Regions from separate parts of the Homo sapiens genome. Here region 1 is linked to region 2. The links are contacts of gene promoters, found by promoter capture Hi-C in blood cells and fetal thymus (Javierre and others, 2016). All regions are on one chromosome and are shown on one strand. Each heading gives the region's core, a stretch centred on a gene start or on the middle of the fragment in contact. The rest is flanking DNA. Distances are from core to core; before and after follow the strand shown.

The links. The method cuts DNA at HindIII sites, captures the fragments that hold promoters and counts their contacts. A CHiCAGO score of 5 or more calls a contact.
Region 1: a contact is called between a fragment that was not itself captured here and the fragment with the promoter of OR1E2 in region 2, in 7 of 17 cell types (M2 macrophages, M0 macrophages, M1 macrophages and 4 more). The highest score is 12.6, in M2 macrophages.

The regions. Positions count from the first base shown.
Region 1 is chr17:3,087,583-3,094,226 of GRCh38, reverse strand. OR1D2 (olfactory receptor family 1 subfamily D member 2) reads left to right here. Exons shown (of 2, transcript NM_002548.3): 2 at 1,181-5,743. The coding sequence starts at 1,231. The coding sequence ends at 2,169. Among named protein-coding and RNA genes, the nearest start is that of OR1D2, 14 kb to the left of the region's middle. The HindIII fragment of the contact is 878 bases long and covers 2,878-3,755 here.
Region 2 is chr17:3,429,021-3,436,405 of GRCh38, reverse strand. OR1E2 (olfactory receptor family 1 subfamily E member 2) reads left to right here and starts at 2,565. Exons shown (of 1, transcript NM_003554.2): 1 at 2,565-3,536. The coding sequence starts at 2,565. The coding sequence ends at 3,536. The HindIII fragment of the contact is 9,794 bases long and covers 1-5,200 here.

The sequences.
Region 1 (6,644 bases), core at 2,067-4,566, 340 kb after region 2:
ATCTCAATGTGCCATTTCTTGAATAATGCAGGCTTTACTTGCTAATATAGAGTGTACCCATGCAGAATTTACCGGCTAATATACAGTGCACCCAAATTAATCTGCCAAATTCCACGTTTTTGTGTCTATCTGTGAAGTTTCTACTGATCTGTTCATTCCAACATTACTATCATATTGCTTTAGAATTCTTAATATTTGATGTGCAAGCATCACCCTGTTATTCTTTTATTCAATGTTTTTCTAGCTTATCTACATGCTTATATTTAGATGAAATTTAGACCAGTTTCATTTCTCCAAAACCCTGTTATAATTTTGATATCCAGTAAACTTTCAATTAATTCAAAAGAGTATATAGCTTGGTGACACTTCTCTTCATATTAGAAACCTTGATATGTTTATCAATTTATTTAATTTTTACTTTACCCCTCACTGGAGAATTTGAAGGTTTCGCCTGATTCTTGTTAACATCTGAGTGCCATGATTTATTTGTTGACAGTGGGGATGAGATAGTTTTTCATTATAACATTTTTCCTGATTCTCGTTAAATATAACAATAATAGGCAACATTTCTGAGTGCTAATTGCCTACCAACTCCTTGTGTTAAGCACTTTACTACTTAATTTTCCCCCACCCTATAACTCATGATTCGCATGAAGAAACTGAGTCTTAAGGAACTCTGGAACCCTACCTGAGGTTTCACAGCAAGTAAGTGGCAGTGCGTACTATCTTACTAGCAGGGAAAGACTTGATTTCAAGTATTCTAAACTCTATTTCTAGTAGTCTTTCAGTGGATAGTCCCACTTTTTTCAGATAGATCATCATATCAACAAATAATAATTGTTCCTACTCCTTTCAAATACTTTTATTTTCTTCCTTTTTTGAACTACTTATACTGCATGTATCTATATTAATTATTTTAACACATATACATATCATAACACACTAATCACCAAACACTTCAAGAATAGTGTAAGATGACAGGATTGAAAATAAGAATTACACATTATTCCTTTAACATTGAGTTTCCCAGCTTTGAAGTAGCTGAAATAATTATATCGCATAAAAACTTTGTTATATTTTTCACTTTCTTATTTTCAAAAATTATAAAATTGGGTGTAAGACATTCTTAATTCTAAGAAAATGTTGATTTTGCTTATCTTCATGTTTTTATTCAATTAAGGACTTTTGGTAAACATTTGCTGGTGTTAATGTTAAAAGAGAGTTGGGGAAATGGATGGAGGCAACCAGAGTGAAGGTTCAGAGTTCCTTCTCCTGGGGATGTCAGAGAGTCCTGAGCAGCAGCGGATCCTGTTTTGGATGTTCCTGTCCATGTACCTGGTCACGGTGGTGGGAAATGTGCTCATCATCCTGGCCATCAGCTCTGATTCCCGCCTGCACACCCCCGTGTACTTCTTCCTGGCCAACCTCTCCTTCACTGACCTCTTCTTTGTCACCAACACAATCCCCAAGATGCTGGTGAACCTCCAGTCCCATAACAAAGCCATCTCCTATGCAGGGTGTCTGACACAGCTCTACTTCCTGGTCTCCTTGGTGGCCCTGGACAACCTCATCCTGGCTGTGATGGCATATGACCGCTATGTGGCCATCTGCTGCCCCCTCCACTACACCACAGCCATGAGCCCTAAGCTCTGTATCTTACTCCTTTCCTTGTGTTGGGTCCTATCCGTCCTCTATGGCCTCATACACACCCTCCTCATGACCAGAGTGACCTTCTGTGGGTCACGAAAAATCCACTACATCTTCTGTGAGATGTATGTATTGCTGAGGATGGCATGTTCCAACATTCAGATTAATCACACAGTGCTGATTGCCACAGGCTGCTTCATCTTCCTCATTCCCTTTGGATTCGTGATCATTTCCTATGTGCTGATTATCAGAGCCATCCTCAGAATACCCTCAGTCTCTAAGAAATACAAAGCCTTCTCCACCTGTGCCTCCCATTTGGGTGCAGTCTCCCTCTTCTATGGGACACTTTGTATGGTATACCTAAAGCCCCTCCATACCTACTCTGTGAAGGACTCAGTAGCCACAGTGATGTATGCTGTGGTGACACCCATGATGAATCCCTTCATCTACAGCCTGAGGAACAAGGACATGCATGGGGCTCTGGGAAGACTCCTAGATAAACACTTTAAGAGGCTGACATGAGGGCAATTTGGAAAGACAGCATTAAAGTGGAGACTAGGAATATCCTTCACCCTATGTAAGGGATTGTCCTGTGTGTTATACAGCAGTGATTGGGACATGGCTCCAGCTCAGAGACAGCATATAGATATGTGGTGATAAAAAAGACATATTTGTAACCTGGTGTCCCCCAGGTCTCATCAGCCTTGGCCGTAAATAAGGTCACACTAACACCAACACTAGAATGTTGCAGGGTCAAATTCTTCAATGTACTTGACTACAGGGCCACATTCTTGGCCTTATCTGACTATATCCAGTTTAAACCTAGAAGTGTCTCTCATCTAGCACACATCCAAAGTACAGAAAGTAAATAGTAGCTGATAAGAAAGTTAGTCACATGGCTGTGGAGGTTTGAAAGAGATTGCAATCATACATATTTGTATCAGCTGATCCAGCACGTGATATAGACCTCGACAGGTGGTGTTCAATTCATTTGACATTCATGCAGTCATTCATCAACTCATTCTATTCATAATGACAGTGTACAGAGGCCTCAAACTGGGTTACAAATGTGAGGTCACAGTCTACTCGGGGAAGTACATAAATTTACATTAAACATAAATGGACCTAACTCATCAATTAAAAAGTAATGTTCAACATACTGATTAAAAAATAAAATATAGATAGATGTATTTAAAGAGACACGATGAAAGCACAGGAATATATAAAGCTTGAAATTAAAAAGAGAAACAGACATATTTGGAAAATACTAAATATTTTAAGTGAAATATTGCTGCAATGACATCAGGTAAAAGATATTTCAAAACGGGTGAAAGGAGTGATGTCAACAAGATGGTGGAATCGACAGTTGTATCTCTCATCCACCAACATACAGACTAATTTATCAACCATCCACAGATGAAAATACCTTTGTGAGAGCTCCAGAATCCAAGTGAAAGTTTATAGCACCCTGGTAGTACACAGAAGTAGAAAAAACACCATATTGAACATTGTAGAAAAAACTCTGTCACATTACCTGAATCACCCCTCACCCAAGCCAGCACAGAGTAGCACAAAGAGAGATCCCCTCATCTCATGAGTTCTTCCATAAGTAAAAAAGAAAATAAAACATATGTACAACTTCCCCTGACTTTCAGGATGCTAACCAAGAGGACCACTTCTGTCATGCCTCACCAAGAATACTGAGGCAATTCACATGGCCAGACCCCTCTGAGTAGCTAAGAACAAGAAAAAAAAAAAATAAGAAAATGGTTGGGAGCTCTTAATAGTCAGTATGTGTATTTTAACAACTGGGGCCTTGCACCCTACAGTGGGCCTGTGCATGGTGCCCAGAAGCTGGCCCATCCACCCACATCCCCAAGCACTAGGCCTGCCTGCCCATAGACCCTGCCAACTGGCCAGCCCAGAATATCTGGCTAAGCTGACTGGTGAAAAACAGTTCCTATCAAATTGGACTTTCCCTATCAAAACCAGCCTGTAAAGACTAAAAGAGATGACTGCTTCTTCAAATGTGCAAACACAAATGTGAAGCTACAGGAAACACAAGGAATCAAGGAAACTTAGCAAAGCCAAAGGAACAAAATAAAGCTTCAGAAACCATCAAAGAAATGGAGAAATATGAACTGCCTGACAAAGAATTCAAGTGATCATTTGAAGAAACATGGTGACCCACACAAAAACACAGGTAAACTACTAAACAAAATCAGGAAATCAATACATAAATAAAATGTAAATTTCAACAAACAGAAACCACAAAAAAGAAACAGTAATTCTGGAGCTAAATAATACAATGACTAAACTTTAAAAAACTCAAAAGAGCTTCAGCAGCAGATATGAAGAAACAGAAGAAAGAATTCACTACTCAAAAACAGGTCATTTGAAAGTACTAGTAAGAGAAACAAATGGAAAAAGAGTGAAGAAAGCCTATGGGACATATGGGACCCATCAAACAAATACACACATTACATAAGTATCAGAAGGAAAAGTGAAAGAAAAGGAGGCAGAAAACTTATTTTTCTAAAAATGGCTATTCACAGCAGCCACCACAGGCAGGAAAACAGAAACCTGAAAGTGCTGCTTGCTTTCTCAACAGGGAGACTTGCAGCCTGGAACAAGTTTTCAGCCCTGCTCACCAGCTACCCGGAAATAAACTCAGCACTGTTAGGGGTAGGGCACATTGGGAGTGACATGGCCACTTGGACAGCATGGGAGCTGGGTGAGGCCTATCACTGCTGGCTTTCCACCACTTCCCTGGCAACCTGTATGACACAGCAGAGGCAGCCATAATCCCCATGGGAACATAACTTCATTGGCCTGTTAACCACACCCCCATCCCTCACAGTGGCCACAGCAAGCCCCACCGAAGGAGAGTCGGAGCTCACACATGCCTAACCCTGCCCCAACCTAATGGTCTTTCTCTACGCACCCTGGTAGCCGAAGACAAAGGGCATAATCTCTTGGGAGCTCTATGGTCCCACTCACCACCTGAGAAACTGGAATACTTATCCAGGCCACCTTAGGGCAAGTTTGTATCCCCCCTATGCTACCACAGCTGGTGCACTCTTGAAAGGACCACCTCTTGGCTGGAGGCCAACTAGTACACTAAACAAAACTTCAACCAAGGACCATAGACTCCTAGATAAACACTTGGACCATGAGAGTTCACTTTACTCCACTGCTACCTCCACTGGACCAGGCACTGGTATCCATGCCTGAGGGACTGAAGACAGATCACATCACAGGACTCTTCACAGACACCCCCCAGTACCAGCTCAGAGCCCAGAAGCTCTGTTGGATGGCTAGACCAGCAGAGAAATAACAATCATTGCAGTTTGGCTCTCAGGAAGCCCCATCCCCAGGAGATGGGGTAGAGCCCCATATCAAGGGGGGATCCCATGGACAAAAACAATCTGATAAGTAGCCCTTGAGCCCCAGATCTTCCTTCTGACATAGTCTACCCAAATGAGAAGGAACCAGAAAAACAAATCTGGTAATATGACAAAACAAGGTTCTTTAACACCCTTGAAAGATCACACTAGCTCACCAGCAATGGATCCAAACCAAGAAGAAATCTCTGAATTGCCAGAAAAAGAATTCAGAAAGTTGAGTATTAAGCTAATCAAGGAGGTGCCCGAGAAAGGTGAAGTTCAACTTAAATTAAAAAAAAAAAAAGTAAGGGTGGAGACCACCCCTCATATTGTCTTATGCCCAATTTCTGCCTCCAAAGAAAGAAGTAAAAACTAAAAGGCAGAAATGAAATCTAAAGGCAGACAGCCTGTCACCACGCCCTGGGCCTGGTAGTTAAAGATCGACCCCTGACCTAACTGGTTATGTTATCTATAGATTACAGACATTGTATGGAAAAGCATTGTAAAAATCCCTGTCCTGTTCTGTTTTGTTCTGATTACTGGTGCATGCAGCCCCCAGTCACGTACCCCCTGCTTGCTCAATTGATCATGACTCTCTCACGCAGACCCCCTTAGAGTTGTGAGCCCTTAAAAGGGACAGGAATTGCTCACTGGGGGAGCTCAGCTCTTGAGACAGGAGTCTTGCCGATGCTCCTGGCCAAATAAACCCCTTCCTTCTTTAACTTGGTGTCTGAGGAGTTTGGTCTGCAGCTCTTCCTGCTAAAAAAGATACAGGATATGAAGGATATGAAAGCAAAAATCTTCAGTGAAATAGATAGCATAAATAAAAAACAATCACAACTTCTGGAAATGAAAGACATATTTAGAGAGATGTAAAATGCACTGGAAAGTCCCAGCAATAGAAACAAACAAGTAGCAGAAAGAACTTCAGAGTTCAAAGACAAGGCTTTCAAAAGCCCAACCCATCAAAGACAAAGAAAACAGAATTTTAAAAAATGAACAAAGCCTCCAAGAAGATTGTGATTATGTAAAATGGCCAAACCTAAGAATGACTGGTGTTCCCAAGGAAGAAGAGGAATCTGAAAGTTTTGAAAACATATTTGAGGGAATAATTGAGGAAAGCTTCCCTGGCCTTGTGAGACATTTAGACATCCAAATGCAAGAAGCTGAAAGAACAACTGGGAAATTCATCACAAAAAGATCATCACCTAGGCACATAGACATCAGGTTATCCAAAGTCAAGATGAAGGGAAGAATCTTAAGAGCTGTGAGGCAAAAGCATCAGGTAACGTATAAAGAAAAACCTATCAGGTTAATGGCAGATTTCTCAGCAGAAACCCTACAAGCTAGAAGGGATTAGGGTCCTATCTTTAGCCTCCTTAAACAAAACAATTACCAGCCAAGAATTTTGTATCCCATGAAACTAAGCTTCATAAATGAAGGAGAGATAGTCTTTTTCAGACAAACAAATGCTGAGAGAATTCGGCACTACCAAGCCAGCACTACAAGAACTTGTAAAAGGAGCTCTAAATCTTGAATCAAACCCTTGACATACACCAAAATAGAACCTCCTTCAGGCATGAATCTCACAGGACCTATAAAACAATAACA
Region 2 (7,385 bases), core at 1,316-3,815:
TCTGAAGTTTATCTCAGAATTTTGTAATAAAGTGTCAAAACTAGCACTAAATGGTTAAGGCTAGTGAATTCTTATTCTGGGAGGATTTAATAGGAGTCGTTAAACTACAATGGGTGTTGGCTGCTTTAAAGTTGGAGGGGCCGGGCGCGGCGGCTAACGCCTGTAACCCCAGCACTTTGGGAGGCCGAGGCGGGTGGATCACCTGAGGTCAGGAGTCCAAGACCAGCCTGACCAACATAGAGAAACCCCGTCTCTACTAAAAATACAAAAATTAGCTGGGTGTGGTGGCATTTGCCTGTGAGCCCAGCTACTCATGAGGCTGAGGCAGGAGAATTGCTTGAACCTGGGAGGCGGAGGTTGCGGTGAGCTGAGATCGTGCCATTGCACTCCATGCTGAGCAACAAGAGTGAAACTCTGTCTCAAAATAAATAAAAAATAAAGTTGGAGGAGTGTATGTCTCAGCCTGAAGGACAGCCAACAAATACTAATGAAACATTGGCCATATCCAGGCACCATCCCAGTTGCTGGCCTTGGTGCAGTCACGAAGGCAGTCATGGCCTTATCTGTATGGAGTTTACAATTTGGTAGGAAACTCAGCTATAAACAAGCAATCAAGGTCATTGAATGCTGCTGGATGAGTACAAGATGCTGTGGAAACTTAGAAGCAGGTCTCACCTGGTCTGAGTGATTGAGCTGAGCCAGTGACATGTAGTAAACCTGCAGGAGAAGCAGGGGTATGCCAAGTAAGAGAAGGCAGAGGGGCCGGGCGTGGTGGCTTACGCCTGTAATCCCAGCACTTTGGGAGGCTGAGGCAGGCGGATCATGAGGTTAGGAGATCGAGACCATCCTGGCTAACATGGTGAAACCCCATCTCTACTAAAAATACAAAAAAATTAGCCTGGTGTAGTGGCGGGTGCCTGGAGTCCCAGCTACTCGGGAGGCTGAGGCAGGAGAATGGCGTGAAGCTGGGAGACAGAGCTTGCAGTGAGCCAAGATCGTGCCACTGCACTCCAGCCTGGATGGCTGAGCGAGACTGTCTCAAAAAAAAAAAAAAAAAAAAAAAAAAAAAAAAAAAAAAGCAGAGGTAAGATGTTACACAGAAGGAACAGCAAGTGTGAACGTCTGGAGGCAAGAAATTATGACTTCTAAGTCTAGCATTGCTGGAGAATGCTGGAGAATGCTGATGCAAGAGTCATTGTGGGACCAGATGAGGCTGTGGAGGTAGGCATGGGTCAGATAATGAAATATGATTTGTGTCCTTGAAAGGAATTTTGTGTATATGTTAAGAATAATGAGAATCCATAAGGACTCTGAGCAGGAGAATGATGATCAGATTTTTATCTTAGAATGCCACAGTGTGTGGCCGGGCACGGTGGCTCAGGCCTGTAATCCCAGCACTTTGGGAGGCTGAGGCGGGCAGATCACGACGTCAGGAGATCAAGAACATCCTGGCTAACACGGTGAAACCCCGTCTCTACTAAAAATACAAAAAATTAGCCGGGCGCGATGGCGGGTGCCTGTAGTCCCAGCTACTCGGGAGGCTGAGGCAGGAGAATGGCGTGAACCCAGCAGGAGGAGCTTGCAGTGAGCTGAGATTGCGCCACTGCACTCCAGCCTGGGTGACAGAGCGAGACTCCATCTCAAAAAAAAAAAAAAAAAAAAAAAAAGAACGCCACAGTGTGAATGGATTGAAGGCTAGTGAGCATAGCAGCAGGGAGATGAAGTAAGAGACTATTCCAATAGTCCAGACAAGAAAAGATGTCAGCCTGTTCCAGATTGTGGCAACTGGGATAAGCAGTGGGTGAATTAGAAATAGAATGAAGTACAGAATCTATATAACTTGCTAGGATTAGATGTTGATCTTGAGAGAAATAAATAAATGAAAGAAAACTCCCAGGTTTCTGACTTGAGCCTGGATTCCTTTTACTGAGATATGAGAGACTGGAGGAGCAAATTGGAAGAGTGGCAGGGTGAGATAACGAGTTTCATCTGGGATCTGTTAAGCTGAGGATGGTCATGATCCATAGGGAGATAATCAGGAAGCAACTGCTAATGCAGTACTAATGATGATAGGTTTACCCAGGAAGTTCAGATGGTAATCAGTGTCACGGGGACAGGTGAACTCTTTCAGGGCTTGATCTGTAGAATTAGAACAGAATTTAGGAAAAATTCCCAGAAAACAGCAACGTATAAGATACTGTTAGAGAAGAAACCATTTACAGTTGTTAAGAAGGAATGGCCAATATGTGTCAGGAAACCAGTGTGATTGCACGGAAGCTAATAGATAAGAGTGTTTTAGAAAGAAAGGAGGAGTCAATCTTGCTACATGTTATGCAAAGTGAGATGGATCAGTGTGAAAAGTAGCGTGGATTTTGTGATGTGGCACATTTCTGATTATAGAAATAATTATAGAAATCTCTGAATATAGAGATTGTTGTTAGGGAAAATGAGGGTGAAATCAGTGATTGAACACCTGTTGACCATGTATCATAGGAATATATTTATTTTTATTCACGGTTTTGAGGGACCCTATTATATTCTCTTAAAGATACTGGAGACAGAGCATGATGGGACAAAATCAAACCAGCATCTCAGACTTCCTGCTCCTGGGCCTGCCCATCCAACCAGAGCAGCAAAACCTGTGCTATGCCCTGTTCTTGGCCATGTATCTTACCACCCTCCTGGGGAACCTCCTCATCATTGTCCTCATTCGACTGGACTCCCATCTCCACACGCCTGTGTATTTGTTTCTCAGCAACTTGTCCTTCTCTGACCTCTGCTTTTCCTCAGTCACAATGCCCAAATTGCTGCAGAACATGCAGAACCAAGACCCATCCATCCCCTATGCAGACTGCCTGACCCAAATGTACTTCTTCTTGTATTTTTCGGATCTAGAGAGCTTCCTCCTTGTGGCCATGGCCTATGACCGCTATGTGGCCATCTGCTTCCCCATGCACTACACCGCCATCTGCTTCCTCCTGCACTACACCGCCATCATGAGCCCCATGCTCTGTCTCTCCGTGGTGGCGCTGTCCTGGGTGCTGACCACCTTCCATGCCATGTTACACACTTTACTCATGGCCAGGTTGTGTTTTTGTGCAGACAATGTGATCCCCCACTTTTTCTGTGATATGTCTGCTCTGCTGAAGCTGGCCTGCTCTGACACTCGAGTTAATGAATGGGTGATATTTATCATGGGAGGGCTCATTCTTGTCATCCCATTCCTACTCATCCTTGGGTCCTATGCAAGAATTGTCTCCTCCATCCTCAAGGTCCCTTCTTCTAAGGGTATCTGCAAGGCCTTCTCTACTTGTGGCTCCCACCTCTCTGTGGTGTCACTGTTCTATGGGACCGTTATTGGTCTCTACTTATGCCCATCAGCTAATAGTTCTACTCTAAAGGACACTGTCATGGCTATGATGTACACTGTGGTGACCCCTATGCTGACCCCCTTCATCTACAGCCTGAGGAACAGAGACATGAAGGGAGCCCTGGAAAGGGTCATTTGTAAAAGGAAAAATCCCTTCCTTCTATGACAGTAATACTTGGGAGTCTTATATAATTTTATCTAATAGATACATGGACATTAATATTTCAATATTATTTCAGATCTCTTTTTTTCTGCACATGAAACTTTTTGTTTAAATGTAATATTACATAATTTCTGAGTAAGTAAAACAGATGTGGGGGGGATATGTAGTTGAAGTAAGGTGTTCTCAGTAACCTGCTAGGAAGATTTTCCTTTTTGCTAATCCCAGGTGAAGAAAATCTTTAAATTAAAGATTTAAAATATTTAAATTAAAATTTCCGTCTTCATTGTTAAACCACCAGTTTATCATGTGTACTTGAAAAAACCCTGTAGGTCTGCTTTAAATGATATTCTGTCCTCTCATGTCAATAATAAGACCCAGACATCTCAGTCCCCTTCTTTGCTAAACAAAACTACAAATTTTGAATAAATTTTTTTTACTCATTTTCCTGAGCAAGTGTTCACATCAGCCTGTCTCCTAACTTTGTTTTCTTTCTTTTTTAAATTTTATTATTATTATACTTTAAGTTTTAGGGTACATGTGCACAATGTGCAGGTTAGTTACATATGTATACATGTGCCATGCTGGTGTGCTGCACCCATTAACTCGTCATTTAGCATTAGGTATATCTCCTAAAGCTATCCCTCCCCCCTCCCCCCACCCCACAACAGTCCCCAGAGTGTGATGTTCCCCTTCCTGTGTCCATGTGTTCTCATTGTTCAATTCCCACCTATGAGTGAGAATATGCGGTGTTTGGTTTTTTGTCCTTGCGATAGTTTACTGAGAATGATGATTTCCAGTTTCATCCATGTCCCTACAAGGGACATGAACTCATCATTTTTTACAGCTGCAAAGTATTCCATGGTGTATATGTGCCACATTTTCTTAATCCAGTCAATCATTGTTGGACATTTGGGTTGGTTCCAAGTCTTTGCTATCATGAATAGTGCTGCAATAAACATACATGTGCATGTGTCTTTACAGCAGCATGATTTATAGTCCTTTGGGTATATACCCAGTAATGGGATGGCTGGGTCAAGTGGTATTTCTAGTTCTAGATCCCTGAGGAATCGCCACACTGACTTCCACAATGGTTGAACTTTTCTTAATTTTTATGTCTGCATGTCTTTTTACCTGACCCAAACCTAAAATGAACTTTCTATTTGCTTACATACCATACTTTAGTTTATCTATATCTAAGAACTAAGTCATACCTAAGGCCCTAAAAGGACTTCTCAAGCATGGGGAAGGGAACCAAAGTCTGCTTAAGAACCTCACTCATTTGTTCACTCATTCATTTATATTAGTTATTTTGAAATTGTTTTAAAAATTGACACATAATGTACATATTTATTGGGTACAGTGTGATATTTTGATACATATATACAATGTACAATGATCAAATCAGGAAAATCAGCATTTCTATCACCTCAAAATTTATCATTTCTTAGTATTGAGAACATTCAAAATTCTCTCTTCTAGTTATTTGAAAAATGCAATAAATTGTTTACCAGAGTCATCCTACAGCGCTATAGAACACTAGAACTTATTCCTCCTATCCTATAATTTTTTATCTATTAACTAACCTCTATAACCCCACTTCTTCCCCTTCTCAGCCTCTAGCAGCCAATATTCTACTCTATACTTCTATACTGCCAACTTTTTAAGCTTCCACACACGAATGAGAATATGTGGTATTTATTTTTCTGTGCCTGACTTATTTATCAAAATATCCTTCAGGCTCATCCATGTTGCCATGAATGACAAGATTTTATACTTTTTACTGACTGAGTAGTATTCCATTGTGTATATATACACCATATTTTCATTATTCATCTGTTGATTGGCCACTTAGGTTGATTCCATATCTTGGCTAACATAAATAGTGCTAGGAGTGAAAATGTCTCTTGGACATACCTATTTTCTTTCTTTTGCATACACACCTAGTAATGGGATTGCTAGATCAATTGGTAGTTCTATTTTTAGCTTTTATGAGAACTTCCATACCATGTTCCATAATAGCTGTACTAATTTACATTCCCACCAACAACAATATATAAGAATTATCCTTCTCCATATCTTTGCCAGCATTTGTTATTTTTAGTTTTCTTGATAATACTCACATTAATTGGGGTGAGATGAGGTCTCATTTTGGTTTTGATTTGAATTTCCCTGATAATTAGTGATATTGGGCATTTTTTCACACACGTTGTTCATTTGTATGTCTTTTTTTGAGAAATGTTTATTCAGATCCTTTGCCCATTTTTTAACTTAGATTATTATTATTATTATTTGCTGTTGAGTTGAATTCCTTGTACATTTTGGATATTAAAACCTTACCAAATGAATAGCTTGCAAAGATTTTCTCCCATTCTACAGGTTTTCTGTTCATCCTGTTGATGGTTTTCTTGCTGTGCAGAAGCTTTTTAGTTTGATATAATCCAAGTTGTCTATTTTTTCTTTTGTTGGCTGTGCTTTTGAGGTATTATCCATAAAATATTTGCCCAGAGTAAGTTGCTGAAACATTTTCCCTATGTTGTCTTCTAGTAGTTGCATAGTGTTGGGTATTACATTTAAGTCTTTAATCAATTTTGAGTTAATATTTGTATATGGTGAGAGGTAGGGGCCTAGTTTTATTCTTCTGCATGTAGATATTCAGTTTTCACAGCACAATTTATTGAAGAGACTGACTTTCCCAGTGTATGTTCTTGGTGTTTTTGTTGAAAATTGGTTGGCTGTAAATACATGGATTTATTTCTGGATTCTCTATTGTGTTCCATTGGTCTGTCTGTTATTATACCTGTACCGTGCTGTTTTGATTACTATAGTTGTGTAGTGTAGTTTGAAGTCACGTAGTGTGATACAGTGAGTTTTTTTCTTTTTGCTCAGGATTGGTTTGGCTATTTGGGGTGTTTCGTGGTTCCATATAAATTTCAGGATTTTTTTTTTCTATTTCATGAAAGAATATCATTTCTATTTGATAGGAATTACATGGAATTGGTAGATTGCTTTGGGTAGTATGGTCATTTTAACAATATTATTTCTTCCAATCCATGAACATGGAATGTTTTTCCTTTTTTTTTTTTATCCTCTTCATTTTCTTTCATATAATTTTCCTTATAGAGATTGGTTAGATTTTTTTCCTAGGTAGTGGGATTGCTTTCTTGATTTATTTTCAGCTACTTTGTTTTTGGTGTATAGGAATGCTACTAATTTTTGTATGTTGATTTTGTATTCTGCAACTTTACTGAATTTGCTTAATTTAATTTAAATCTAAGACATTTTGGTGGGATTCTTAGGCTTTTCTATAGATAGGACTATTTATCTGCAAAGGACAATTTGACTTCCTTCTTTTTGGTTTAGATGCTGTCTATTTTTTCTCTTGTCTAACTGCTCTTGATAGGATTTCCAGTAGCATATTTAATAAGATTAGCAAGAGTACACATCCTTGTCTTATTCCAGTTCTTAGAGAAAAAGCTTTCAGCTTTTCTCCGTTCAACATGATATTAGCTGTGGGTTTGCCATATTTGGTCTTTATTGTGTTTAGGTACATTTCTTCTATACCTAATTTATTGAGAATTTTTTTCATAAAGTGATGTTGAATTTTATCAAATGCTTTTTCTGTGTCTATTGAGATGATCATATGGGTTTTGTCCTTCATTCTGTTAATGTGATGTATCTCATATGTTGATTTCCATATGTTGAGCCATCTTTGCATTCTTGAGATAAATCCACTTGAATCCACTTGAACATAGTGCATAATCTTTTTGATGTGCTGTTGGATTTTGTTTGCTAGTATTTTGTGAAGAATTTTTGCATCTATGTTCATCAGGGATATTGGCCTTTAGTTTTCTA